7 separate regions of the Homo sapiens genome follow, and regions 1, 2, 3, 4, 5 and 7 are each linked to region 6. The links are contacts of gene promoters, found by promoter capture Hi-C in blood cells and fetal thymus (Javierre and others, 2016). All regions are on one chromosome and are shown on one strand. Each heading gives the region's core, a stretch centred on a gene start or on the middle of the fragment in contact. The rest is flanking DNA. Distances are from core to core; before and after follow the strand shown.

The links. The method cuts DNA at HindIII sites, captures the fragments that hold promoters and counts their contacts. A CHiCAGO score of 5 or more calls a contact.
Region 1: a fragment that was not itself captured here is called in contact with the fragment with the promoter of NSUN6 in region 6 in 1 of 17 cell types (activated CD4 T cells); the score reaches 5.4 in activated CD4 T cells.
Region 2: a fragment that was not itself captured here is called in contact with the fragment with the promoter of NSUN6 in region 6 in 1 of 17 cell types (non-activated CD4 T cells); the score reaches 10.9 in non-activated CD4 T cells.
Region 3: a fragment that was not itself captured here is called in contact with the fragment with the promoter of NSUN6 in region 6 in 3 of 17 cell types (activated CD4 T cells, total CD8 T cells and non-activated CD4 T cells); the score reaches 5.7 in activated CD4 T cells.
Region 4: a fragment that was not itself captured here is called in contact with the fragment with the promoter of NSUN6 in region 6 in 1 of 17 cell types (activated CD4 T cells); the score reaches 6.2 in activated CD4 T cells.
Region 5: a fragment that was not itself captured here is called in contact with the fragment with the promoter of NSUN6 in region 6 in 1 of 17 cell types (M0 macrophages); the score reaches 5.5 in M0 macrophages.
Region 7: a fragment that was not itself captured here is called in contact with the fragment with the promoter of NSUN6 in region 6 in 1 of 17 cell types (non-activated CD4 T cells); the score reaches 9.2 in non-activated CD4 T cells.

What each region holds. Positions count from the first base shown.
Region 1 is chr10:16,954,677-16,957,545 of GRCh38, reverse strand. The region is part of intron 31 of CUBN (cubilin); the gene reads left to right. Among named protein-coding and RNA genes, the nearest start is that of RSU1, 140 kb to the right of the region's middle. The HindIII fragment of the contact is 1,089 bases long and covers 907-1,995 here.
Region 2 is chr10:17,035,659-17,038,554 of GRCh38, reverse strand. The region is part of intron 27 of CUBN (cubilin); the gene reads left to right. Among named protein-coding and RNA genes, the nearest start is that of CUBN, 93 kb to the left of the region's middle. The HindIII fragment of the contact is 5,094 bases long and covers 1-2,896 here.
Region 3 is chr10:16,798,994-16,801,693 of GRCh38, reverse strand. All of the region lies in intron 2 of RSU1 (Ras suppressor protein 1), which reads left to right. Among named protein-coding and RNA genes, the nearest start is that of RSU1, 17 kb to the left of the region's middle. The HindIII fragment of the contact is 2,592 bases long and covers 95-2,686 here.
Region 4 is chr10:16,765,675-16,768,374 of GRCh38, reverse strand. The region is part of intron 3 of RSU1 (Ras suppressor protein 1); the gene reads left to right. Among named protein-coding and RNA genes, the nearest start is that of RSU1, 50 kb to the left of the region's middle. The HindIII fragment of the contact is 2,708 bases long and covers 1-2,700 here.
Region 5 is chr10:20,211,941-20,214,854 of GRCh38, reverse strand. All of the region lies in intron 10 of PLXDC2 (plexin domain containing 2), which reads right to left. Among named protein-coding and RNA genes, the nearest start is that of MIR4675, 340 kb to the left of the region's middle. The HindIII fragment of the contact is 634 bases long and covers 1,040-1,673 here.
Region 6 is chr10:18,650,224-18,653,103 of GRCh38, reverse strand. It overlaps NSUN6 (NOP2/Sun RNA methyltransferase 6), which reads left to right and starts at 1,517. Exons shown (of 11, transcript NM_182543.5): 1 at 1,517-1,975. The coding sequence starts at 1,901. RefSeq lists an enhancer at 1,278-1,377. The HindIII fragment of the contact is 3,002 bases long and covers 1-2,139 here.
Region 7 is chr10:17,009,723-17,012,422 of GRCh38, reverse strand. All of the region lies in intron 28 of CUBN (cubilin), which reads left to right. Among named protein-coding and RNA genes, the nearest start is that of CUBN, 120 kb to the left of the region's middle. The HindIII fragment of the contact is 862 bases long and covers 855-1,716 here.

The DNA.
Region 1 (2,869 bases), core at 202-2,701, 1.7 Mb after region 6:
CTGTGGCTTTGATTTGGATTTCACTGGTGATTAGTGATGTTGAGCATTTTTTCATTTACCTGTTGGTCATTTGTATGTCTTCTCTTGAAGACAAAAAGACTTATCAATGGATGAATGGATTTTTAAAATGTGATATATATAAACAATGGGATGGTACTTAGCAATAGAAATGAACACAATCCTGTCATTTGTGGCATCATGGATGAGCCTGAAGGACTTTATGTTCATGGAAATAAGCCAGGCACAGAAAGATAAATATTGCATGATGTCACTCATTTGTGGAGTGTAAAAATGCTGATCTCGCACAAGTACAGGGTAGAATAGTGGTTACCAGAGGCTGGGGACGGTAGCAGGGAGGAAATTATGGGGAGATATTTGTCAAAGGGTATACAATTACAGTTAGGTAAGAGGAATAAGTTCTGATGTTCTATAACACAGTAGGGCACCCACAGTAAACAATATTCTGGTTTATAAATATTATAGTGTGTTAAAAGTAACTAGAAGAGAGGATTCTTAATGGTCTCACCACAAATAAATGATAAATGTTTGAATTGATGGACATGCTGAATACCATGATTTGATAATTACACAATGTATATGTGTATTGAAACATCACACTATCCCTCATACATGTGTTCAATTATTATGCATCACTTAAAACCAAAATAAAAAATAAATATAAACTGTATATATTCATAAAATTGAATCTTAAACTTTTATAAAAATGAAAAAATGCTATTCTAAACAAATAAATGAATAAATTATCTTGAGAGAAGTAAATAGTCTGTGCCTTAAGATTCAATTGGTGTATTCTCCATACTCTGTAACCACAGATGTTCTAAGAAGGTATTCATTATCCTTTGATATTAAAACTAAGACAGTATTAATAGAATATTACTACAAGCTTAGGACACTGTATCTATAACCTTAGGACAGCATAAAACCAAGTATAGAGATAATAAAGACTTGAATTAAACCAATGGTGGTGATATTTGAGAGTAGACTCAAGTATGAATGTAGTAAGAGGTTTTGTAGTGATGGTTTAAATGTCATTTTGTCTACTGTTTACAGTGTTCAACGTGTTCAAAGGAAGGATTCATACTAGATTGGAAATTATAATTTGAATTGGTTAGAAAAATGGAATTTAGTTTTTAATCAATCTTTGTTGAATGAAAATCAGTCATCAGGTTTCATTTATTGGAGATATATATATATATATTTAAATTTTGAACATTAAATAATAAAAAAGAAAAGATTTGCTGCTCCAGAACAGACCCACATTTGTTTTAAACTTATTATTGTAAGAGCTTTAGCTCCTCAGAAAGTTAAAAATCCTATTGATATTTGATTCATGGGCTTGTATAAGCCAAACTGAGAATATCCTGCCAATCATACCTGTGGCTAAAGAGAACATGCAGAATCATACCTGTGTGCTAAACAGAACACTGATTATAATCATCACCAGATTTTTAAAGTCACTTGCGAGTAACTTCCTTACATTGAATCTCCGAACTTTCTATTTTTTTCCCCAAGATTTTCTTATGAAATATAAATGGCAATTTGTTTTTAATGAAATGGCCATATTTTACCTTCATACTTTCAGTCACATTCTAATGGTTGGCAGGTTGATGCATGCGTCCTGCTCAGTTGATACCTTGCAGTGAACAAGAGGAAAGGGTTTCAATTCTGGACTCTGGAATCTAGTGGTCTGATTCAACGTGACCTGCTCCCTCTTAGGAATTGTGTGACTTGGGCCCATTACTTAGGCTCTCTGTGCCTCTGTTGTCCTGTTCTTAAAAACAGAAAGAAATTTGGGAGGATAAAATGGGACAGTGTACGTGAAGGGCTGAATCCAGTTCCTGGCACATAGTAAGCACTAATGAATGGGAGTTATTATTAATCATCCAAGCAAAGGAACTCATTTCCCCCCTGATTTACACATAAGAGTATTCAAAAATTCATCCAGACACTGAGTTCCAAGCAAATTAGTAAGCTTCAAATTTTACAAATCAATACAGAGATTTCAGGTATATGTGACATAGATTCCATTTCATTACATGCCTGGAGGGTCAGCTAGGTCCCAGCATGGCACTAGGCAAGACAGAGACCAACAGTTAAAAAGAGAGAGGTAATTTTCTTTTCCTTTTTTTTTTTTTTTTTTTTTTTTTTTTGAGACAGAATCTCGCTCTCTGTTGCCCAGGCTGGAGTGCAGTGGTGGGATCTCAGCTCACTGCAACCTCCGCCTCCCAGGTTCAAGCAATTCTCCTGCCTCAGCCTCCTGAGTAGCTTTGACTACAGGTGCACACCACCACACCTGGCTAATTTGTGTATTTTTTATTAGAGACGGGGGTCTCGCCATGTTGGCCAGGCTGGTCTTGAACTCCTGACCTCAGGTGATCCACCCGCCTCAGCCTCCCAAAGTGCTGGGATTGTAGATGTGAGCCACCATGCACGGGCAAAAAGAGAGAGAGGTAGTTTTCTAAATCAGCCTTATATCACCCCTATCGTTTGAAAAGAATTCTGCCATTTCTCTTCTCTTGAGCATTACCCTATCACGAAACTTATGAAGAACAAACAGGTCCAACAAATGTTGGGATTCTGACAACAAATGCTCATCACTCATCATTATTTCTCGTCTGTTTTCTCATGTGTCTATTCTTGCATTACACATTTCCAGCACATGTTGTGGGCATGGCCTGTGAGGTGACTACACTGGGGTTGGGAAGGAAGGGGAGTGTGGAAGGGACGGCATTTATGAAGATATCAAGAAATCTAATAGTGGCTCTGACAGAGGAAGTCCTGCTGAAATTCACGTCAGCATCCCTAGAAATGACCAAAGACTTGTTACAGCTGTGAGAAAGGACAATAA
Region 2 (2,896 bases), core at 197-2,696, 1.6 Mb after region 6:
CAAAAAGACTTAATTACGTGCTGGTCAGACACTATCCCGCCTTGATGAGAGGAATGGGTTTGAAAAGATCCCATTGGAAACCAAATGCATCCTTTATTATTTCACCCTCTGGGCAAAACAAAATATTTCAGATCTGGAAATAAAATATACAGTGGGAGAAGGGACCATTTGCTTAAAGGAGTGAGACCATTTGCCCGTGCAAACATGGGGAATCAACCTGAAGAGTTCTGGCTGTATTTTACAACTTGATTTCAGTCTTCCATTTTTATTTTGAGTCTGAGTCTCCATGCAGAAAAGGAGATTTCAAACGAGTGATTGAATATAGAAATGGAAATGATAGATTTGGGAGAAATCAACATGGAGATGTATAGGAAGCCCAGGGTATTTGTTAAGTCAACAGGGAGCATGTGTGTAGTGAGAAGAGGAAGTAGGAACACTAAGAGGTGATTGTGGCTGGGCACGGTGGCTCAGGCCTATAATCTCAGCTACTCAGGAGGCTGAGGCAGGAGAATCACTAGAACCCGGGAGGCGGAGTTTGCAGTGAGCTGGGATCGCACCATTGCATTCCAGCCTGGGTGACGAAGTGAGACCCTGTCTAAAAAAAAAAAAAAAGGTGACTGTGTCATGGGAGCCAAGGGAAGAGCAGTCGAGAGAGGTTGTGGTTCAGAAGGGTCCCTTGGAGATCAATGTGACTCTGGTCAGAGCAGTGTTTGTGGGGCGAGAGCAGGAACCAGACAGTGTAAAGAGGTACAAAGAGGAGAGTGAGTGTAGACTGAAGTCTAGGTCCCTGAATTCTGAGGCTCTCTGTAACAAACCAGAGTAAGTGATGGCTTCTTTTCTCCAATCCTTATCCTTCATTTCCCTAACTGGTCCTCATCTAGTTCACGTGTGTGGGACACACTCCTTTGCATGTTCTCTTGTATGTCAGTGCCTCTTTAAATGTGGCCCCAGAATTGGATGCAACAGTTCAACTAAACCTGGCTAGGCCCAAGTAGGTTGGAACCGTATTATCCAGTTCATATATTTCTGGTGGTCTATGCTGAAGTTAAATGGGGTTTATTGTAGCTAAGTCATGATATTGGCCTATATCAAGATTTATAATCTCCATATCACTTTTACATGAATTATTATGAATTTATGATTATATGATTTTTAAGAATCTAAACAGAGATATTTTTCCTAATAAATCAGATTTGATTTTGTCTGAGAATCCCAACACATCATGACCTCCCTAAATCTTCATTCATTGCTTTTCAGAGCATTATTCATTTGCATACAGACTCATTGGCCACTGACCTAGTACTTCTTCAAAAATAATTGATAAAAATGTCAAACAAGATTGCATCTATTTCAAATACTCTTAAATGATAAGTTCTTTTGGTTAAAATTGATCTATTATTAAGTGCTTTTGGAATAGCACTATTCAAACTACTAGGTAATAAAAGCTAATATTTATTCAGCATGTATTATTTGCCAGGTAATTCTCACAGCAACCCTGTATTATAAGAAATATTATCCCCATTCGTTAGGTGAGAAAAGTGAGGCAGATATAGGTTGTTCATATTCAGAAAGATTATAAGTGTCAAGGCCGGCTTTCTAGCAGGCACTGTAACTCCACACCGATGCTCTCAGCCATAACACCACATACCCCGGGAGCACTCTCACAGTGTCCTGTCACCCTCACAGGGATCATGGGGAAGTGTTCCTGCTGCCCCCAAGTCTACCATTCTATTGACACTGCCGCAAAGAGAAATCAATGTTTTGCATGACTCCATAGATAAGCAGGTGCCATTTATTATAATCACCTCTTTCTTTGCTTCATGTTGACAAATTATTTTTAGTGTCTAATTTAGAATTTTTCCAAAAATTACTGTTAATCTTACTGATCTACGAGATTCTAGAATGAATCTTTCCCCATCTTGGAAGCTGGAACGTTTTCCCTTCAGCCCCCTGGCAGCCCTGCTGGTTCTCCTTGTCTGGGCTCGCACTCTTGGTGGTGGCACCGAAACACAATCTGAGCCACATGAAGAGGACAGGCGCATGTGACAGGCTGGTTACTTTGAGAAGGCTCACACCTCCCCACACACAGGAGAGGCTGAGAAGCCTGGAGAAGGTGGGAAGCCAAGAGAGTGAGGCAGATTCTCCACTCCCACTTCCTAAGGCTCTGCTCCTGCTCCCTGACTGTTCCCATCCATTCCCATCCCTCTCCCCAAAGGCTTCCTCTGAGTTTCAGCAACCTCGGAATTTTAGCTTCAACAACATGACCACCCCAGCCTTGACCCTACAGGATCATTTACCTCAAGTGCTTGCATACAACCAGACTTTCCCTTGGTGACAAATCCCCAGCACAGGGAGCTCATGTGTTTGAGCTCGACAGCAAATGCATGGGTCTAGCCTGCCTATGGACGATACTCATTAGGGCAGTGTAGCCAAGCCCTCTAGCCGGTGATGTTCACAGATTATGTTCTGGGCAGAAGCAGAACTTGTGAGCAGGGGCATAGATTCCGCTGGAATGCTAAAACTTTTTTTTTTTAATTTAACTTTCAAGTTCAGGGTATGTGCACTACCCTGATAGTAGTACACATACCCTGAACTTATTTATTATGTAGGTAAACTTGTGTCATGGGTGTTTGTTGCACAGATCATTTCATCACCTAGGTATTAAGCCTAGTTCTCATTATTTTTTTGGATCCTCTCCCTCCTCCCACCCTCCACCCTCAGGTAGGCCCCAGTGCCTGCTGTTTCCCTGTCCTGTGTCCATGTGTTCTCAGCACTTAGCTCCCACATATAAGTGAGAACATGCAGTACTTGGTTTTCTGTTTCCTGCATTAGTTTGCTGAGGAAAATGGCCTCCAGCTCCATTCACATTCTTGCAAAGGACCTGATCTTGCTCTTT
Region 3 (2,700 bases), core at 141-2,640, 1.9 Mb after region 6:
AGAGCATATATTGTATAATTTCTATTTTCTTAAGTTTAAGGGGTGTTTTATGGCCCAGAATGTGGTCTATGTCTATGAATGTTCTGTGCAAGCTTCAGAAGAATGTGCATTTTTCTGTTAGATGGAGTAGTCTATAGATGTCAATTATATCCAGCTGATAGATGGTGGTGTTGTGTTTTTAACTCTGTCCTTACTGATTTTCTGCCTGCTGGATCTGTCAATTACTGATAGAGTGGAGTCTTGACGTCTCCAAGTATAATAGCGGATTTGTTTCTTTCTCTTTGCATTTCTATAAGTTTTTGTCTAACATATTTTGACGCTGTTGTTAGATACATTCACATTAAGGATTGCTGTGTCTTTCTTGGAAAGTTTACCATTTAATCGTCATGTAATACCCTTTTTTATTTCTGATAATCTTCCTTGCTTTGAAGTCAGCTTTGTCTGAAATTAACATGACTACTGCAGCTTTTTTTGTTTAGCGTTTAGCGTCATATCTCTTTCTCCATCCCGTTACTTTTAATTTAGTTGTATCTATATTTTATATTTAAAGTGGATTTCTCATAGATAACATATAGTTAGATCCTGTTTTTTTTTTTAAAAAAAAGATCCACACTGATAGTCTTATAATTGATATGTTTGGTTATTAACATCTAATGTGATAATTGATATTACTTAGATTAATACCTACAAAATAAGTGTTTTCTATTCTTGCCCTTGTTCTTTTTTTTTTTGTCTTCTGCTCTTTTTCTGCTTTCCGTGGCTTTAATTGAGCATTTAATATGATTTCATTTTCTCTTCTCACAACATATTCCGTTTTCTCTTTTCTCAGCAAATGTACATTTAAAAATTTATTTTTTAGAAGGAGGATAAAGCAAGGAATAAAAACTTCTTAATGATAGCCCTAGAGTTTGCAATATACATTTACAATTAATCTTAACTCACTTTTAAATAACACTGTGCCACTTCAGAGCCAGTGCAGGTAACTTAAAATCAGACATTTCCAGTTCCTTCTTGTTGTTCTTTATAGAATCGGTATCATTCATTTCAGTTATCTGTAAACTATAATCAACCAACATGCCTGTTACGCCTTTTGTAATTATCCCATTGTTCTTAGATATTTTGTCTTACTTTTCTCCTACTCTTCTTTCTCTTTGCTTTTCAGTTTAGGAAGTTTCTGTTGACATGTCTTCAAGATCACTGATTCTTTCCTTGACTGTATCCATTCTACTAATGAGCCAGTCAGAGGCGCTCTTTATTTTTGTTACAGTGTTTGTGAACTCTAGCATTTCCTTTCAATTCTCTCAGGGATTTTGTCTCTGCTGACATTACCCATCTTTTCTTGCATGTTGTCTACTTTTTCCATTAGAGCTCTTAGCATATCAATCATATTAATTTTAAAGTCGCAGTCAGATAACTGTAAAATATCTGCCATATCCGAGTGTGCTTCTTTTGCTTGATTTCTCTCCTCAGCCTTTCTTCTTTTTAGAGTACCTTGTAATTTTGTTGTAAGCCAGACATGATGCATTGGGTAAAAGGAACTGAGGTAAATAGGCTTTTAGTGCGAGTTCTCACATTTTTGTAGCTTTGGGTGTCAGAGGGTAAAATTTTCTCTTGTGTCTTCCTTGTGTTTTCCTCCCCTTTTCTCTTAGATTTTCCCTGTTGAATCCTTAAATACTGTGTGAGCCTTGAACTTCTGCCGTAATTCCGTATTATTTTATAGGACCCCTTCTGATGAGAAGGCATCGGGAAAAGGGAAACGTTCTGTAATCCTGTGCTTAGATCTCTCTAGTGAGCCTGTGCCACTTGGCTGTGACCTTCACAGCTGTTTCTCAACTTCCCCGCATCCCCTCCCCGCCCCCGGCTACCAAATTGAGACAGGAAGGTGTGAGCGGGCTGGAGTTGGGTATTTCCATCAGTTCCTGTTGGTCAGGCTCTGGTAAATCCCAGGTAGCCTAGGCTCTGCTAAATCATTTCTCTGTTTGTTAAGGAGAGCAGAATGCTTTGGGCTTCTTTCACAGTGGTTGCTCTTCTCCCCTTCCATGAAGCACAGAGGGATTTTTTTTTCTAATTTTTTCACCCTTAGAACCTGGTAGGGCTCTTAGAGGTAAAACTCAGCAAAGTACAGGAGACCCCTTAAGACCGGGCCCCCAGGAACTTGTTGTTGTTTTTGTTGTTGTTGTTGTTGTTTTTAATCTCTCAAATTAGTTTACCACTCAGTCTCTGGCAATTCGGCAGTTACCCTTGAGGCATTCCTACCGGTTGCTGGCTCCAGCAGGTATTTCTGCTCCTACTATGCTGTGATTCTCTGTGTTTGCCTGTCTCTAGATTTCGGTATGGTGGTTTGCCCTGTGACCTGAGTTTTCTAATGAATCTATGGAAGAGTTGTTTGTTTTCTGTTTGCTCAGCTTTCTTCTTACTGTGAGTATGGTAGTGACAACGTCCAGAATCTCTATTTGCTAACCAGAAACCCGATACATCTCTAATCTGGTATTAATTTTGGAAATACGGCTCCCTGCTTTTTAGAATTTGAACTGTATCTAGATTTTCAGCACATATAGCCATTTCCTATGATACAGTCTCTCCTTTAGCCCTCACGTAGTCTTAGTTCTACAGGCACCCCTATCTTTTATGCGCATTAGGAGTCCTTAGGACAATGTATCTCTAGTTATTTTGATTGTCTGAAGCTTATACTCTGGAATA
Region 4 (2,700 bases), core at 103-2,602, 1.9 Mb after region 6:
CTAATTGAGAGCCCCATTTGTTGAATTATTTAAAGCCATATCATTGATTTTCATAATCCATCTCCTTTTAGAATCCTAGAATGTTAAAATGAGGTGGAAGAGACCTTGGAAATGGTCATAATCCAGCCTTCTTATTTTACAGAGGCCCAGAGAGGTTATGAGTTGAGTGAGGGCACACACAGCACTGTAGGGTCAGGGACCACGTTGCTCTTTAGTTCCTTTGGTGTCATAGGTCAGCTGGGGTCATAGATCAGAAGCTGGACAGATTGATGAAAAAGGATCGTTTCAAAGATGTAAGAAATATACTGATGTGCACTGTTAGCTTTTAAAATGCTTCTTGCTCATGCATCCTGTAGATATCTAGAAAATTCCAGTAGAATATTTTGACTGGTAAAATATTGCAGTGGCCTTTTTGGAATACCTAAAATTGTTCCCGCCACGTATGTATAGGATTTAGTCATAGCACAATTCATATTGCTAACTGGTTATTTTTTTCAGAGAGTTTGGTTGGGAGTAGTTTATTTTCCAAGCACTAGGCCTGTTTCAGTTGATTGACTTTGATACCCTGTCTTTTGTAACTTACTTTCTTTAAATAACATGCCTCTCCTATTTTATCTCCCAGGTATTGAGATGCTGTGTGTGCAAAGTATGGCACTGTGCACCTAATCAGCATTCTCTAAATATTGGTTCAAAGAGTGAATACCATCCCATCCAGAAGGGTCTGCATGTTAATTTCTTTAGATTTTCACTATGGCTGGGGGTTAAAAAAAAATTCCGTATATTGAGGGAGACTATTAGCTGTGTATTATTTTTTTTTCCTCGTCTAGCTTGAATGGAGTCTTAAACGAAAAATTCACATGCTCACCAAAAGGCTGGGAGAGGTTTTGTAAATTGAATATGGGGTTATTGTTTGCGTTCACAAAACAAAGCCCTAAATCACATTTAGCATAATTTGTGGTTTTAAATTGGACTGATTTAGCAAGGAGAGTGAAATAATCTCTCATCCTGTCAAAAAGGCGATACCTTTAGACCAGCATTTAATTGCACTGGCAGAGTAACTTCGGGAAGACGGCAGTAATTCTGGCTGCATTATTCTTGGTTTGTGGCTAAATTGAGATCATCATTTTCTCCTGGTTTCACTAACTTTCCTTATTGCTCTTCAAACTAATCAGATGAATGTGCTCTTCAAACTAATCAGATGAAGGCTTAGTGGTAGCTGGAGGGTGGACAGGGGAGGGATGAGGTCTGTGGGCAGCTGTAATGTATATACTTTATGATCTGGGGGGAGAAGATGACATCCAGTGACCCAGAAGGCACAGCCTGGTGATTTTCTTTTCTTTTTTTTTTTTTTTGGACATAGAGTTTCACTCTTGTCACCCGGGCTGGAGTGTAATGGCTTGATCTCGGCTCACTGCAACCTCTGCTTCCCAGAAGCGATTCTCCTGCCTCAGCTTCCCGAGTAGCTGGAACTACAGGCATGCGCCACCATGCCCAGCTAATTATTTATTTATTTATTTATTTTTTGTAGAGATGGGGTTTCACCACGTCGGCCAGGCTGGTCTCAAACTCCTGACCTCAGGTGATTCACCTGCCTCAGCCTCCCAAAGTGCTGGGATCACAGGAGTGAGCTACCACACCAGGCCAATCTTTTCTCTTCTCGAGATAGAGTTGTACTCTTGTCACCTAGGCTGGAGTGTAATGGCATGATCTTGGCTTACTGCAACCTCTGCCTCCCAGGTTCAAGCGATTCTCCTGCCTCAGCTTCCCGAGTAGCTGGGATTACAGGCGTCTGCCACCATGCCCAGCTAATTTTTGTATTTTTAGTAGAGTCAGAGTTGCACCGTGTTGGTCAGGCTAGTCTTGAACTCCTGACCTCAGATAGTCCACCCACCTCGGCCTCCTAAAGTGCTGGGTTACAGGTGTGAGCCACCGCTCCCGGCCCTGGTGATTTTCTTGGTAATCCCTTACACACAGTGAATACCATTCATTTACACAGAAGTGTTCCATGGACTGTGCACCTAAGAAAGAATGTACATTTGCAGCCACACTGTACAGGTAGGGTTCATTTGCATTCCTGCAGGTATCCCAGAGGGAGGGTTCTGGAGGAACTTTGAGCTGTCTAGATTACCCGATGAAAACTTGTTCTTTTATCAACGGCCACTTCCGGAGCTCGCGCAGGGGCCGCTCACTAGACCACTGCTCCCTGCCCGTGTGCCCCAGTTCAGAGTAATCTGTATTCTTCACAGTCCCTTCTTCCAGTGAAAGCATCTCTTTTACCTTTCACCAAGCCTTACCTCTAAAAGGCCAGTGATACCTTAGACATTTCAGAAAGCTCAAAATGATGACTCAAAACTATAATAAGCAACGTGCCTGTCCCTTTACTTTTGTTCCCCTGGGAGTTATCAATTGGTCGTCTTGAAATGGCTAGCTGCTTAAATATTTTAGATGTATGTTTGGCATTTTACACACACCTTTGTGGTGGTTCTAATCACAGGTGCTCCCGGGTCTGAGTTTAGGTCTGACTGCAGGAAGCAGGTTGGTCTCCCAGCCTCCTGGGGCACCCCTGGAGGAAGCAGATGGGATGGGAAGTAAACCTGACTGATAAGAGACATCACACTTTCTCAGGCTGAGTTCCACGCCCCTGTTCATGTTCTTAGTTATCTGGATAGTCTTGGTATCAGAGTTTACGTGAACCATGGC
Region 5 (2,914 bases), core at 107-2,606, 1.6 Mb before region 6:
TGTGTTTCTACTGTCAATGAACAGGACCTAGTATTCCGTAAACAGGATCTAATAATGTTCAGTAAACACCCTACGTTTAAGGTAAAATCCTAGGCTCAGATTGCTTTTGGCAGTAACGGCAGACTAAGGAACTAAATAGCCCTCCTATAACAAAACAAGTAGATTCTGAATAAAACTTGAATTTTAAAGCCTTAGGATTTGCAGGAGGTAAAGAATATCCCAATGGTGCCTTTCCATTGTTTATTCCCCTCCCCACTCAAAAAATAAAACAAAGCAAAAGCTATGTGCTATAAAGACAGTAGGAGCTGTATACATTAAGGGAAGTTAAAAAAGCAGAATTTGCCCTGAGGAAAAAAATCCAAAATCAATATCGCTCTAAAGAGAACAAGCCTTGCAGCAGTAGTAGACAGGGGAGAAAAATCTGAACTTCTCCTCCTCACATTAGGGCAGAGACTTATGGTAGCCTGAAAATCCTGAGGATCCCATCATCAAATCTTCTTTGGGGGAAAACATCACCTATTTAGGTCTTAGAATAGGATCAGACAAATATACACTAAAAAAGAAAAAAAAATAGCTGTCTGAGAAAGAATCAGCAAAAACAATGACCACACTATTTAGATCACCAAAATTTTAGATAATGGGATCATCCAATATGGAATATACAAAAATCATACACGGAATATTTAAAATCATAAAAGATAAAATTGAGAAATGAACGGTTCACATGAAACTATAAAATACTTGGCAGATGTAATAAGTGTCAAATTTAATTTTAGATATGAAAAATGTTTGTTGGAATTTCTACTTCAGTGAGTAGATTACATAGAATATTAAACAAGATGAAGGGAGAGTTAATAAACCGGTAAATACATCTGAAGAAATTGCTCCAAATACAGCACAGAGTAATAAGGAAAGAGATTACATATAATAGAGGTTTAAAAATATGAGGAAAAGATGAAAATGGCAAGCTTTCAAAGAAGTCAGAAGGTGAAAATAAAGAGAGTGGAGAAGTATAGCTGAAGAGTACATTTATCAAGCTTGACACCCAACCAACAGGAAAACACACATTTTTCTTGAACACACATAGACCCTTTGTACAAAATGCCCATGTACTTGTTCATGAAAAATTTCCAATCAACTTTAAAGATCATAACATGTTCTCTGATGATGACTCAATTAGTCTAGAAGTCAATAGTAAAAAAGGTAAATTTTAAAAGCCTCTGTAATTAGGAAATGTGATCTAATTCATAATTTAATGTATTTCCAATAAAATGTTAGTAAGATGTATTGATAGATGGATTACAGATCTCGACAAGGTGAGTTTAATATTTATATGAAGGACAAAAGCCCTAAAATACCCAAACACTTGTGAAGAAGAAAAAGTAAGGAGATTTGTCCTGTATATAGTAAGATTTCTTATAAAACAATAGAAATTAATACAGTGGGACACTGATCTAAGTACTGACAGAGCTTTAGAAGAGGAGAGCCCAGAAAATATACATAAAACAGGTGACTTTGCAAGATATTGCCAAAAGAAAGGATTAGTTAACAAATGGTGCTTGAAATTTGGCTATCCATCAAGAAAAAAAACCCCACGAAACTGAATCTCTACCTTATATAATACATAAAAACCAATTCCAAATGGAATAGATTTTGACGTGTAAGACAAAGCTTTAAAATATTCAGAAAAAAATACACAAAAATAACACCTAGATGGAATTTGGTAGGAAAATTCTTCTAAAAGAAGATGCACAGGCATATAAAACTCATCATAAAAATAAAAGATTCATACATTTGACAGATTAAATTGATAATTAATGTTAGTGAAATAAAATCATAGAGAAAATGAAAAGATAAACCAAATTTGGGAGAAAAAATATACATCTGAATTACATTCTCAATCTTTACATATATGGAGATATTCATTTTCAACATTTTATATTGAGGTAACTGATTATATGAAAGAAATGATTGTCTCAAAACACAACTATGGCTTTGTCAATAGATACTCTTTGGAACTACGTTATTAGATAAGTGAGGTGAGACGGATGAGCACACACTGCTGTCATTCCCTAAATGAAATGCCAAAAGGTTGGTTATAGCTACACTGGCAATACTGCATTTAAAGTTCAAGAATGTTTTTAAAAATGTATTGCTCAAGATCTTTATGAAACATGCCCCCCAAAAATGAATTTTTAAAAAGTCTCTAAGTAACCATTGAACAAATAGTTTTTAAAACAGCATTTTGGCATGGCTTGCTTTGCTAAACTTTTGTAATTGTTAGCAGTTTTAATTCAAAATTGATACCCCAAAACTTAATGAAGGGAGAAGAAGTAAATGCTTTTCTTCATAAACTTTATAGGATATCTTTATATGATCTTGAAATGATAGTATAAATGCGAGTCACTGCAAAGCTTTTAAACGGGTTAAAATTGTTTCTGGTATCCAATTGCTTACACGACTTCACTGCATCCTTGTCTCTATCATGTTTCCCTCAGAGTTAACATTATACCATCTCTCTATGCCAACTAATGTTATACAATTTCTCATTTATTACAGCACATCAATTTGCTGCAGTCTTCCACCCTCCACAATACCACTGGTCTTGCTGTTTGAATTACAAAGAGGAACAATGGTTTCGTACATCCTAGAAAAATAGCAAGCATTTAAGAGAACTCCTCTACAGATTCCAATCCTGGCCCTACTATTCCCTAGCCATTTACCTGACTCTCCAAGAACCCACACTTCACCCCTCCCCACAAGCTCCCCTCACTCCTCCCCTTTCTCTCCTTGGTAATATGGGGGTAGTGACAGTGCAGGCACTGTTCTTCATAGAATGAATATGACAATGAAATGAGATAATACATATAAATAGTTAAGCCCCATGTCTGCATCTATTAGGGGTTGTAGCAAG
Region 6 (2,880 bases), core at 268-2,767:
TCACCATGAAATTCAGGCTACAGAAATTCCTTTGGAAATGTCTGATTTAGACATTTATCACTTTCAGATGTTTTAGCCATGAAAGAATCTCATGGATTTATTGAAGAAATATGCTATGGTCAAGGACAAGGTATTGGCTCTAGAAGCCAAATTACTAGTCTTTATCCTGGCTTTTTATTTGTGAGAACATGGAGAGTTGTTTCAACCCTAGGAACCTTGATTTACTCTTTAAAACAGAGAAAATGGGCTGGGCGTGGTGGCTCACGCCTGTAATCCCAGCACTTTGGGAGGCTAGAGAGTCAGATCAGTTGAAGTCAGGAGTTTGAGACCAGCCTGGCCAGCATGGTGAAACCCCGTCTCTATTAAAATTACAAAGATTAGCTGGGCCTGGTGGCACATGCCTGTAATTTTAGCTACTCGGGAGGCCAAGGCAGGAGAATCTCTTGAACCAGGAGGTGGAGGTTGCAGTGAGTCGAGATCCCACCATTCCACTCCAGTCTGGGCGACAGAGACTCAAAAAAAAAAAAAAAAAAAGAGCAGAGAAAATGATAAACAACTTGCAGGTTGTTGTGTGGTATAATGGTCATTCATTATTTTCTACTCTTTCTGGTAAAGAGTTGGTGTGTCATGGAAAGTACCTGTTCTATGTGTGTGTGTCTGTGTGTATAATTCGGTGTGAAAATTAAAGAGAAAAAAACAATAAAAAACCCTTTCCTATACTTATGTGTAAATTACCATGGTGTGCTGCAAAAAACATATGTCAAGGTGATAGAATTATTTTGACTTTCCTGTACAGTTATAAAATGACTCAGTGAGTTTGGTTAGATATCCTCGTTCTTTGAATCTATATCCTTGTCTGCTTATGATGAAAAAAAAGAAAAAAAAATAATGGCGAGGGTCTTCCAAACTCTAAAGAATATGTCAACTATGATACAAGTAGCAGTTAGCCTTATAACTAACTGTAAACACTGTCTGTGGGTTTTAAGTTTTACCTGAGCATTGGATATTAACAGACCATTAGCCCAACTTTCAAAAATATGAACCCTATGAACTTCACAACTGAAGTCAGATCTGTATGCCTGAGAGAGGTAAAATCATGTCATGAAATCAAACGGTGGCTGATGCGCCCAAATTCTGGCCTCATCCTCTAACTGGAGGACATCTGGCAGGACAGCAACTGGGCTGTGCCTTTTTTCAGTCCAGCAACATCTTCCACTCAACCCACGCCATTTGGCTGTTTCCCCATTGCCCCTGGCACCTAGCCCTCCGGTACCGGGAACTAAATATCTTTGACCATCCCGCCCGCGGGGTCTGCCTACTTAACCTGAGGCAGGTGAAAGAGCCTCACGCAGGGTTAGGAACCTCCGGGGGCGTGGCGTAGCGTAACGCAGTGTTGGGGAAACTTGCGGCTGTGGATTGGGGGACCGGAAAGGGAGGGGTGGGCCGCAGGCGCCGGACGTGACGTAAGCCGGAAGCGACTTTCCGCCGAGAAATAGGGGGCGCGTGTTTGGAAATTGATAGAAAAGATAAAGGGACCGAGCTGCTGTCAGCCTGGCTTACTGATCTGCGTCCGTTTCACCACGGATTCAGTTACTAAGCATTTTTTTCTTTTTTTGGTTCTTTGCAACGTGAGTGGCATTGGCTCAGTGATTTCCATGAGCATCTCTACCAGAAAACATTGCCTCGATGAGGTGTGGTGGAAGCCCGGCAGCCCCTTCTAATCGGCTAGGCTTGAGAAAGCGTGTACCTCTGCATTTCCGAAATTAACTCAGCGTGATCGGCAAGATTTTCCTCAGCATCTGGTGTCAAGACACTCGTCACTATTAATTCGGAAAGAAAAAAAAAAACAAAACACCGTTTTCCAGCATTTCTCTTGGTGGAGAACTAAACAACAGGAAAAATGTCTATTTTCCCTAAGATATCTTTGAGACCTGAGGTTGAAAACTATCTTAAGGAAGGCTTTATGAATAAGGAGGTAGGTCAAGTAAAGATGTTAGTTGATATTTTGCAAAAACTCAAATATTCGCACACTCGAGAGAAATAGAAATAAGTATAAAGGGAAATCTTGACAGCCGTCGTTCCTTACTACTTGTCTATCAAGTGTAAAAATACCAATATGTTTCTACAGGTATTAAAGCTTACTGAGATACGAAGTGAATAAGGTATATGTTTTAACATTTAGGAGTGGAAAAGAAGGGAAAAAAGGCATGTGCCTGTCAGGCATGGCACAAAGGGTTACAAGGATGAACAAGAAAAGGTCCCTGTCTTCAAGAACTCGAATCGAATTTTAAAAGAGCGCTGGCTCTGGCACTCAGGTGAAAAGGTTTCTGTAATTTGTTGAGTGCCTCTTAAATGCCAGCAGTTGTGCTAGGAGATTTGCATCTTTAATCTTCACAATCTTTTTTTTCTTAGAGGTTTTTCCTCTTTTAATAGACTTGAGCAGAAAACTGCTCAAGGAATTGTGTAACTGATCCAAGTTGACACAGCTATCAAGTAACTATTGAAATCTGGAGGGAAAGAGTTCAGGTGTAATGAACAAAGGTACAGCTTTTGAATCTCAGGCACATGATTTGCATTCTAGTGCTTTGTAAATTACGTGGCTTAACCTAGATTTTTCTCTTCTGTGAAAAATTGAGAATGGTTAAAAATATCTTGCCAGGTTGTTTTAGGATATTAAACGTAAGTGAATACAACTAGCATTGTTTTGGCATGTAAGTCCTCAAAAAATGTTAATTTTATTTGCTAAAGTCCTCAGTAAATGTTGATTATCTTTGATTGCAAAGCCTGTTGTCTATTCCATTTTACCATGCTGCCTCTAAGCAACTTTGTTTTTTTTCAAATCTTTAATTTTTTAGTCAAGTTAAAAATATTTTACCAGGT
Region 7 (2,700 bases), core at 36-2,535, 1.6 Mb after region 6:
GGAGGACTTTGCACCTTCTTTGGGAAAGAGTGTTGCTTTTACACTAACCAGTCAGGGATAGTACGAGATGCCACGCAGCATTTACAGGAAAAAGCTTCTGATATCAGACAATGCCTTTCAAACTCTTATACCAACCTCTGGAGTTGGGCAATATGGCTTCTCCCCTTTCTAGGTCCCATGGCAGCCATCTTGCTATTACTTGCCTTCGGGCCCTGTATTTTTAACCTCCTTGTCAAATTTGTTTCCTCTAGAATCAAGGCCATCAGGCTACAGATGGTCTTACAAATGGAACCCCAAATGAGCTCAACTAACAACTTCTATCAAGGACCCCTGGACCGACCCACTGGCCCTTTCATTAGCCTAAAGAGTTCCCCTCTGGAGGACACTACAACTTCAGGGCCCCTTCTTTGCCCCTATCCAGCGGGAAGTAGCTAGAGTGGTCATCACCCAATTCCCAGCAGCAGTTGGGGTGTCCTGTTTAGAGGGGGGATTAAGAGGTGAAGCCAGCTGAGCTTCTGGGTCAGGTGGGGACTTGGAGAACTTTTCTGTCTAGCTAAAGGTTTGTAAATGCACCAATCAGCGCTCTGTGTCTAGCTAAAGGTTTGTAAATGCACCAATCAGCACTTTGTAAAAACACACCAATCTGCGCTCTGTGTCTAACTAAAGGTTTGTAAACGCACCGATCAGCACTCTGTAAAAATGGACCAATCTGCGCTCTGTAAAATGGACCAATCAGTGCTCTGTAAAATGGACCAATCAGCAGGACGTGGGCAGGGCCAAATAAGGGAATAAAAGCTGGCCACCCGAGCTAGCAGCGGCAACCTGCTCGGGTCCCCTTCCACGCTGTGGAAGCTTTGTTCTCTCACTCTTCACAATAAATCTTGCTGCTGCTCACTCTGGGTTCACACTACCTTTATGAGCTGTAACACTCACTGTGAAGGTTTGCGGCTTCATTCCTGAAGTCAGCAAGACCACGAACCCACCGGGAGGAACAAATAACTCCGCACTACCTTTAAGGGCCGTAACACTCATGGTGAAGGTCTGCAGCTTCACTCCTAAAGTCAGCGAGACCACGAACCCACTGGAAGGACGAAACTGCGGACACATCTGAACATCTGAACAAACTCTGGACACACCATCTTTAAGAACTGTAACACTCACTGTGAGGGTCCGTGGCTTCATTCTTGAAATCAGCGAGACCAAGAACCCACCAGAAGGAATAAATTCCAGACACACTACTGTCTTAGAGTGATCTAGCCCTGGAACATGTAGTGCTTGTGGGTCTCATAGCAGTAGTTCTCAACCATGATGCTAGAGCTCATTGGTGTATTTCAATCAACTGGAAAGAGAAGTGGAGTTCCAAGATTATACCAGGAACCAAGCATAGACATCTAAGCTGTGGCCCTGCTGTCAAAATCAGGGCTGAGCTCTAGCTGAGCACACATGAATGTGTGCAGTGGTTGACTCTTAACATTGTTCACATTCTGGTGCACTCATTATAGGAATGTCAGAGCTACTTATAACTGAATAGCCCTATTATACACTTAGGAGTGCTAGGCGTTCTGAGATTATAAACTGGGCTCTGAGTGTATGTCTGTTAAAATATGTATGGGGCTTTCAGTATTTAAAAATAGTCAGTGGTCATCCACAGAGCTACTTGCAGCTTGAAACGTACATTAGGAATTCCCAAAGTAAATGAGTTGTGATAACTAAGCTTGTAGAAGTTCTGGACCTTCCTCTTCATCAAGTGAGTAGATATTTATATATTTATTTATTTATTTATCAAGATAGGATCTTGCTCTGTCATCCAAACTGGAGTGCAGTGTCCTGGTCATAGCTCACTGGAGCCTTGAGCTCTGAGGCTTAAGTGATTCTCTCACTTCAGCCTCTTGAGTAGCTGAGACTACAGGTGTGTACCACTGCACCTGGCATTTTTTTTTTTTTAGTAGAGTTGAGGTCTTGCTATGTTGCCCAGTCTGATCTTGAACTTCTGAGCTCAAGCAGTCCTCCTGCCTTGGCCTCCCAAAGTGATGGGATTACAGGTGTGAGCCACTGCACCTGGCCCAAGTGGGTAGATTCAACCTAAGTCAACTCATGGATCCGTTAAATGCAGGGATTGGATTGATTCATCTCTATAATACAGATGATCTGTAGTATTCCGTGATTCTGAAACACATGATTCTAACTAGAGACAGTGTGAAAAGAGACAGAAAGGTCAGGAGAATCCTGGGAAATGGCCCAGAATTTCAAGGGCTGGGGCATTCTCCAGAGCATACGTGCTACCCAGATGCTCCTGTGCACATGAACCCTGGGGATCTTGTTGGATAGAGGATGGGGTCTGGGGCAAGGCCCGTGAATCTGCATTTCTAACAAGCTCCCGGGTAATGCTGCTGGTGCTGCTCTATGGACCGCTCTGAGGAACAAGGTGAGAGCAAGTGTTGAGACTGGAGAAATGAGATGGTAGAAAGACAGTATCCCTAGAGACTGGAGAATCCTTCTGAGATGTTGAAAGGGCACATTGTACTGTTTGTTTTAATGACAGTAGGATAATAGCAAGATCTAAAGCAGAGAGAACTTTCCCCCAGGGACAGAAGTGTAGAAGGTAAGAAATGTTAACCAGGAAGCCTGGGCTCAGGGCCCTGGAGAGTGTTCTCAGTCCTAGATGCACCATTGGAATTGCCTGGGAGTTTTAAAAAGTGC